3 separate regions of the Homo sapiens genome follow, and all the other regions are linked to region 3. The links are contacts of gene promoters, found by promoter capture Hi-C in human tissues and cell types (Jung and others, 2019). All regions are on one chromosome and are shown on one strand. The core of a region is centred on a gene start or on the middle of the fragment in contact, and the rest is flanking DNA. Distances in the headings are between cores, read along the strand shown.

Region 1 (2,700 bases), core at 89-2,588, 38 kb after region 3:
TGCTATAATTTAATCTGTGTAATGGTGGCAAGGCTGAAGTTTATCACAAGGAAGGCTGGAAAGTTTTCTTTAAAATGGTACGTGGGGAAGAAGGTAGTAGTAACCAGATGCAAAATGAGTGCAAACAATGTTTAGAAGGAACAGAAAAGTAGGCAGAAGAGAGCAAGATGGGGAAAGTCAGCTCACTAGGGATACTGAACTTAAAGGCAGCTGGAGCTAGTTATCAGTCATAAAGGAAGCTTGGGGTGGGAAGGGATTTATTAGCAAGCTCCATCATCTTCATCTGTAGCTCCACATCTCCTTCGCCCCATCATTTGTGACACAAATAAGGGACTTTCCTCAAGCTTATGTAATGTTATGCAACACAGTTTCAAGCACTCCAATCCTGGAGATTTGCTCAAATTAAACCCTTTCTATTTAAAAACTCTGGAGCAGCGAGTGAAAGCAACTCACTACTCTGCAGGACAAGACTCTGTGTGTGTGTGTGTGTGTGTGTGTGTGTGTGTGTGTGTGTGTGTGTGTGTGAGTTTTGGGGGAGGAGCAGTTAGAAGGAATTAACTGGGTCACTTAATTCCAAAGTGTTAATGATAAGTGGGACCTTGGAGATCACCTCTAAAGCACACCCCTAACTTTGCAGATTAGAAAACAGGAACTTTCGAGATGAGGTGCCTTTCCCAAGGTGACACTAAGTGGAGGAGCCCAGCCAGAGTCCAGGGGTCCTTACACAACCTTCGGTGGTCTCTCTTTACCTGTGAAGCTGCAGCCTGCTTCCCAGCTCGGGGGCGTGTACAGGAGACTGGACCTGGGGCAGCCTCAGAATGCCTGGCTGCCTGGAGCTCTCCTCGCGTGTCCAGGCGGCCTGCTTGGTCTCCCTCCTCTCCCCTCTTAGGTGCCGGGGCGGGCACCCGGTGCAGGGTGGGCACGGCGCCTGCCACCAGCCTCAGGCGCTGGGAGAAGCGCAGGTTCTTCTGGATAACCGAAGAGACGTCAAAACAGGCTGGGGCAAAGTGGTCAGAGCAGATGACCGAGCGGTCATTGCCTCCGTACCAGTCGGCGCGGCAACCCCGCACGAAGCGGTCCCAGAGCAGCCGCACGGCCCGGTCCTTGGGAAAGCGGAACAGCGACTTCCCAGACTTGGTGGTGTTGCCGCAGTGGGCGGCCACACAACGGGCCGGCATGGCGGCCGTCTTCGGTGCGCGGGAGCCGGGTTCCCTGGACCTTCGCCCTTGGGCACGCTCCTCGCAGCGGCCTCGGCGAGGCAAGTCCTCCCCTCCTCACCTGTCCACTCCGGGTCGGGATTGTTTCCTTCCCTACCTCTGGTCACCGGAAGTGGCGATCTGGGGCCCCCAATGGGAGGGCTCTTTGATATCTTCCTCCTCCTCCTCCCTGCGCTGCTCCCCAGGAGCCAGTGGACACAAGCAGAGGGATACAAATTTCGCGCGGGCAGCGCTGAGGTGGGCCGTAAAGAGGAACGGACCGGAAGTGGTGGTGGTTATAGCAACCAGTGTGGCCAGCCTCTTCCCCAGCTTATCCTCCTCCCAATACTCCCGCTCTGTTTTTATGAGGCTGGGAAAATAGAACGAGGAAGTGGTGACGCACTGGGCTCTCACGAATACAACTAGAAGCTGCAACGACTGTGTGGCTCTATCGATTCGGGAGAGGTCCAGACCGGAAATGGTCGTTTCCATGGTAACCCTGAGCAGGTTGCCTGGGAGATGACCTCTTTCGGGTCTCTTTGAATCTCCGCTGTAGCGTCACCTGGAAGGCAGATCTAACAGAGAACCTGGACTGTCTCCTATCATGATTCCCGGGAAATATCGCTCTGTTTCTGGCCGGGCTGCGAACAACGTAAGTTGGGCCTTCTACTTTCTCTTTCTTCCCACTGGTACTCTTTCTGACTGGCGTCTTTGTCCTAGGAGATGGGCTGTATTATTAGGACCGGCACCGCTGGGTCTACTCAAGCTATTGTCTGACCAGGGTTTGAGGTTCGTGGGCTGGACCAAGGCACAATTTAATATTGTATGATGGGTACTCAAAGTCTTGTCCAGGATCTGGGCTCCCCAGAAGGTGGAGCTGGTCTGCTGTGAAAGGCTTGGGTTTATTTAAATTCCTTTGGCCAGTCAATTCCTTTTTCTTTTCTTTTCCTTTTAACTGTGAAGAGAATTTATCATTAGGGACTCCCACCTCCTTCACCTGTCTCATTGAGATGTTTATTTAGACCTGAATGGCAAATGTCGAAAGCCTGAGGTACTAACTAGAGGGTTAAATTGCTGCCGACATTTTGGAAAATAAATCAGTGAAACCTTTTAATTCTTAGATGTGATTTTATTGTTTTCAGCAAATCCTCAGAACAAGATCATTTACCAGAAACAGAAATAGAGCATTGTGTTCTATTTTTTTGTTGTATTTCTGTTTGTACCTTTTTTTTTTTTGGAAATATGTGTTTGTGTATTAAGAGCAAATTTTATGGTTTAATTTTTACATTTCAGGTGAACTGCGGGCTTCATCTGGTTATTCAAACATCATCGCTTCCTGAAAAAAACAAAGTAAGATTTAAGAAGGTTGGCATTTAAATTGAAGATTGTTTTAAATTCTACACAAATAGCAGCATGACTTAAAGTGTAGATAGATTCTAAACTGAAAAATTTAAGTAGATTTGCTTTGATTTCCAGTTTAAAGCTAGTTCTTACTTTCTGCCTA
Region 2 (2,700 bases), core at 46-2,545, 41 kb before region 3:
CGTTTATCAACCGTGCATCCTTTTCATTTTGGCAGTTGAGACTTGAGCATTGTTCTAGAGTGAGTCTTGAAATGTTGCCATCTTGTGGTAGAAGAGAGTAACTGCTTGTTTACTCTCTGTGGTCGTATTTATTTCAAGTACTGTATTTGTTGAGGTCCGCTCTGTATCAGGCACTGTACAATAATTGCAGTCATAACTTTACATTAAGAATAAGGGTCTGCTAGCCGGACGCGGTGGCTCAAGCCTGTAATCCCAGCACTTTTGGAGGCCGAGACGGGCGGAACACGAGGTCAGGATATCGAGACCATCCTGGCTAACACGGTGACACCCCCGTCTCTACTAAAAACACACAAAAAATTAGCTAGGCGTGGTGGCGGGCGCCTGTAGTCCCAGCTACTCGGGAGGCTGAGGCAGGAGAATGGCGTGAACCCCGGGAGGCGGAGCTTGCAGTGAGCCGAGATCGCACCACTGCACTTCAGCCTGGGCGACATAGTGAGACTCCATCTCCAAAAAAAAAAAAAAAAAAAAAAAAAATAAGGGTCTGCCTATGCTGTGGGAGCCTCTTCCTGGGATTGGTGGTGACTGCCATTCCAGACCCTCCATACCAACTGCATCGTGGGAAGCCAGTACCCTCACACCCCATTCTATTTGAGGTTTTACCCAGAATCTTGGATGCTGAAAGGAGCCTGATGGAACAATGCTACCTTAGTCTGCATCATTCATTTCAGGTGAATCAAAAGGTGACTTTTTCCAGCTGTGGCAATTTCCCAGTGGTTCTCAGTCCTGGCTGCACATTGGAATCACCTGCAGGCTTTTAAAAACCACAATGCCCAGGCTTTACCTCCCAGAGACTCTGATTTAATAGTGCAGGGTGAGGCACTGGTATTTTTATAGCTCTCTGGGTCAGGAATGAGAGATGCTATAACATTTAGGACGGGTCAGTCATCACCATTTTTATTGCTATTATAACTGGAAGAATTACCCTCCCAACCTTCCTGCATGCGCATACACACACAGACACACACACACACACACACACAGACACACACACCTCTGCCCCCTCACCACATTGGGACAGAAATTGGAGAACAGCATGCATGGCTCCATCATCTAAAAACTTCATTTGTCTCTCACATTATAAATAATACTTTCCAAGCTTTTGGGGCAATGGGGCGGGGGGGGGGTCTTTGAGACGCTTTACAAGTTACTAGCAAAGGTATATGGCCAACAGGCCCCTTTTCTTATTCTTGGTCAGTCGAAGGGAGCACCATTTGAAGGTAGGATGGATGGAAAATTGAGCAAAAGAATACATTCTGGTCACCAAAACGATGTAAAGTGAAACTCCAAGGCACAGCCTGGTAGAGTATGGACAGTTTGGGAAAAATAAGGTTTGTTTTCTTTTTAAAGGTAAAATCTATGCTATTTCTGGGAATTAATGTTTGTCAGGGGAGAGTGTGTGCATGCACCGACTATTATTCCAGGAGCATTAGGAGGAATAAAGACATCTCTTTTCCATTCACTTTGGTAGGGACAACTTAAGGGGAAACAAGCATGAATCCCTGCATCCCCGACAGCTCGTCTGGCTCTGAGGGACTTGGAGAGCCCAAGTTTGTCTTGGACCAGTTTGATGAGCTACCAGGTGCAATTCTGAATGGAATAACTAAGACTTGGCTAAATCAACTCTCGGGGGGAGTTGGGTAGGGTGTGGGAGAGCCTTGTGTGACAGACCAGTCCCTGTAGGTGGGAGGTGAAGTTTCTCAAACACAGGAGAGGATACATACCTGTCTTAGTGGATTTTTTGCTGCTACAACAGAATACCATAGACTGGGTAATTTATAATGAACAGAAATTTATTTGGCTCATGGTTCTGGAGGCTGGGAAGTCCAAGATCAAGTTGCCACATCTGGGAAGGCCTTCTTGCTGTCATAACATGGCGGAGGGCATCACACAGGCAAGAGTGCACACACGTGAGAGGGAAGGGGGCTGAAGTAATCTTCTCAGGAGGAACTCATTCCTGCAATAATGAACCCAATCTCATGAAAACAGTATCAATCCACTCATTGGGTACAGCCCGCATGGCCTCATCTCTTAGAGGTCCCACCTCTTAATACTGTTACACTGGGGATTAAGCTTAATGCCTTTTGGGGGACACATTTGAACCACAGCAACATTCCAGAGGGGGAAGGTTTGAAGGAGGCTGTGTCTCTGAAAGGAAGGTAGATATAAAGTCAAAAGAACAAGATTAAAAACTGAAAGGCACCACCTAAAGAGTCTCCAGTTTTCCATGGAAAACCATTCAATGAAATGTTTAATTCATTGAATGGTTTTCCTTGGGAGCACAAGAAAAATGGTATTGATGGCCATTTAAAACTTTTCTCTGATATGTTGTGACTTTCTTTAATTTTCCCACCTTGAGTAAAGTTGGATATATTTATTCACTTTTGTGTGGTTATGTCATGAAGACAGGAGAGACACATTTGCTGCCTCCCAATGCTCGGAGATCATTGTGCAGGAAGCAGCAGGATGCTGGGGCAGGCTTGCCCAGTGATGACCTGAACTGGGGACCACAAGGAACCAAGAGCTGCCAGAAGACAAAAGAGCTCAGAGGGATGGAGGCCAGGGGAAAACTGAGATGTGGGAGTAGGAAGACAACTCCACCCCACCACCACTAAATACAGGAGCACGTGACCCTTAAGAAGA
Region 3 (2,700 bases), core at 143-2,642:
CAACTGTCTCTACTGGTCTGCCCCGAATCTCTGGGTCCAGAAGTCTGACCCTTTAACCTGGGGAAGGGTGAGCCAGTAATAGAGAATGGCTCTGGGCCCAGTATTCTTCCACCCTTGAGTTGAGTATTCTCCCAGTGAAGTAGATATACGCTTGCCAGGACAATCCTGCAGAACCTTAACAGCTAAACGCCTGGGACAGGGTCCTAGAAGAAAGAGAGCTCCTAATAAGTGCCTGTTGGCATCCACCAGAATGTGCAAGTTCTGTCATTTCCCCACTCTCATGTCTATGTCTATGTTTTATCTCCTTTCAACAGCAGGAACAAAACACCAGTCCTTAAGGGCCTGGGCATTAGTGGACAGGAGCCAAGGTGCCTGAGGACAAAGCTCGGGACCCGGGACAAGGTTAAACAAGTGCCATAGCAGCTCCAAACTACCCAAAACCCAGGAACACCCCCCCCCCGCCCCCCGCAAGGCAGCAAGATGATGCAAACATAAAGGTCTGGTGGGAAAGGCTGTGTGAAAATGGGAATCCCCCAGGGCGGAGGAAGTAAAGCAGCAAGTCCTCTATCCGTCTCAAATTACCTTGAAATCCCACCTCCTGGAATCCCCCATCAGCAAGTGTCCGCTGTACCTGGCCTGCTACCACCTAAAGACTGAGCGCAGCCAGCAGGACTGGGAAAGGCAGGGCGATGATGGCAGTGAAGGGTAAGCGGGACCACTCGCAAGGGGAGGGGAAGGCGGGTAGGGATGGACTTTGCGGCGATGGGGAGGTGGTGTCTTGAGGGAGCCCACAGAGAAGAGGCCTCCTCCAGAGGAGGGGGTGGCTTGGATGGCCCGTGAAAGTCCTCCTCCTGGATCCCTGAACATCCCCACGTCCAGGCCCCTCAGATCCCGGCCGCCAGCCCTGGGAGCCTCGGTTGGGCGACGAAGCTGCGGGCTGGGGCACCGGCTGCCTCCACGGGCCGGTTCTGACTCAGGGGCTCGGCCCGGAGCTGCTTCCCCGGCGGCGGGGCTGACTCAACCCCCTCTGCCCGAGGAGTTGTCGCGCGCAGTCAGCGCCCCGAACTCGCGCGCGGCCCGGCGCCCCCTCGGGGCCCACCTCCCGGGCCAGCCGCCGCGCCTACCTGTGCCCGCGGCTCGGCTCCTCCTCGCTCGCGCTGCCCCAGCCGGGGCTGAGGTACCGGGCCGGGTCCCCGGCGCCCCGAGTCTCCGCCCCCTCCTCCTCGTCCTCCAACTCGTCCACGTCCTCGGCCTCCTGGATGGCGACGCGGATCTGCACCGCCGTCTTGGGCCCGGGCCGAGCCTCCCCGCCGGACTGGGCCATGGCTCGCGGGACTGCGGCGCCGCCGGGGTCCTCACGCCGCAAGGCCCAGCCAGCCGGTCGGCAGCGACTGCGACGAGGGGGCGGGGGCGGTGCGAGCGCGCCTGCCGCTCGGCCCAGGGGAGGGACAGGGGTCGCGGCGCCCCGCCCCGCGCCGCCGCCGCCGCCGCCGCCGCCGCCACCACCCCGACCGCTAGTGGAGCGCCCGCGCAGGCGGGGCCTCGGAGGTGGAGGGCGGCTTTCCGGAGCTCCTCCGACGGAGGCCCGTCCCGGAAGGATCCCCGCGACCCCCGATCACTCCCTCCGTCTTTTCGCCGCTGTGGGGCCCCAGCCCGAGAGGAGGTGTCAGGGCTCCCTCCTCCTGCGCCTTCTTTCACGGCGCCGCAGGGATGGGCGCAGCACAGCTGACTTCTGTTTGTGCTTGACTCCGGGGGTGGCAGCCAGAGACCACAGCTCCAGGGGCTTCCAGGCCTCCTGCGTGTCTCCCCCACTGGCCTGCCAAGATCAGAAAATTTCCATCGTTAGTCTCCTTGACATAATAACCACCCTAGACCGCGTCTTAGGAGGTCAGGGGCTTGGCTCCTGCCTTGCCCTGTATCAGTTTTTCTCCAAGTGTGGTTCCCAGACCAGGAGCATCAGCTGCACCGGGGAACTTGTTAGAAATTGAATTCTCAGGGCTCATCCAGACCTCCTGAATCAGAATCTATGATTCAGAACTTTGTGTTTTAACAAGGCCTCTAGGTGATGCTGAAGTTCACAAAAGTTCGAAAGCCGATGGCCTATAGAGTATGCCCTGCACATAGTATGCACTCAGATGTTTGTTGAATGAATAAAGGGAGCTATTGAAATGTCAGGATGTTCTAAAACACTGCCACCTTTTCACGTGTAACTTCAAATTGAGTTCCATCTCACCTCTCCAAATGTGACCCAGAAACTAGGGACAGGAGCATAGAAATGAATAAGACCGGCCGGGCGCAGTGGCTCAAGCCTGTAATCTCAGCACTTTGGGAGGCCCAGGCGGGCGGATCACGAGGTCAAGAGATCGAGACCATCCTGGCCAACATGGTGAAACCCTGTCTTTACTAAAAAAAATACAAAAATTAGCTGGACGTGGTGGCACGTGCCTGTAATCCCAGCTACTCGGGAGGCTGAGGCAGGAGAATCACTTGAACCTGGGAAGCAGAGGTTGTGGTGAGCCGAGATTGTGCCACTGCACTCCAGCCTGGGCAACAGAGCGAGACTCCGTCTCAAAAAAAAAAAAAAGAAAAAGAAAAAAAAAGAAAGAAGGAAAGAAGAAAAAGAAATGAATAAGACCTGAATCTGCTTTCATGTAGCACTTTATTTAGAGCCTTAAACATAATTTATCATATTAATTTGCC

The links. Contacts are between HindIII fragments. The study calls those that stand out against the background at their distance.
Region 1: a contact is called between the fragment with the promoter of THAP10 here and the fragment with the promoter of LARP6 in region 3, in 1 of the 25 tissues and cell types used here (psoas muscle).
Region 2: a contact is called between a fragment that was not itself captured here and the fragment with the promoter of LARP6 in region 3, in 1 of the 25 tissues and cell types used here (pancreas).

Annotation. Positions count from the first base shown.
Region 1 is chr15:70,891,095-70,893,794 of GRCh38, forward strand. THAP10 (THAP domain containing 10) reads right to left here and starts at 1,339. Exons shown (of 3, transcript NM_020147.4): 1 at 750-1,339. The coding sequence starts at 1,178. It overlaps LRRC49 (leucine rich repeat containing 49), which reads left to right and starts at 1,732. Exons shown (of 16, transcript NM_017691.5): 1 at 1,732-1,848; 2 at 2,490-2,546. The coding sequence starts at 1,801. RefSeq lists an enhancer at 994-1,692. The HindIII fragment of the contact is 16,576 bases long and covers 1-2,700 here.
Region 2 is chr15:70,812,162-70,814,861 of GRCh38, forward strand. No RefSeq gene overlaps it. Among named protein-coding and RNA genes, the nearest start is that of LARP6, 41 kb to the right of the region's middle. The HindIII fragment of the contact is 4,907 bases long and covers 1-2,700 here.
Region 3 is chr15:70,852,765-70,855,464 of GRCh38, forward strand. LARP6 (La ribonucleoprotein 6, translational regulator) reads right to left here and starts at 1,393. Exons shown (of 3, transcript NM_018357.4): 1 at 1,125-1,393. The coding sequence starts at 1,324. It also overlaps a transcript of LRRC49 not described here. RefSeq lists an enhancer at 782-1,283. The HindIII fragment of the contact is 12,354 bases long and covers 1-2,700 here.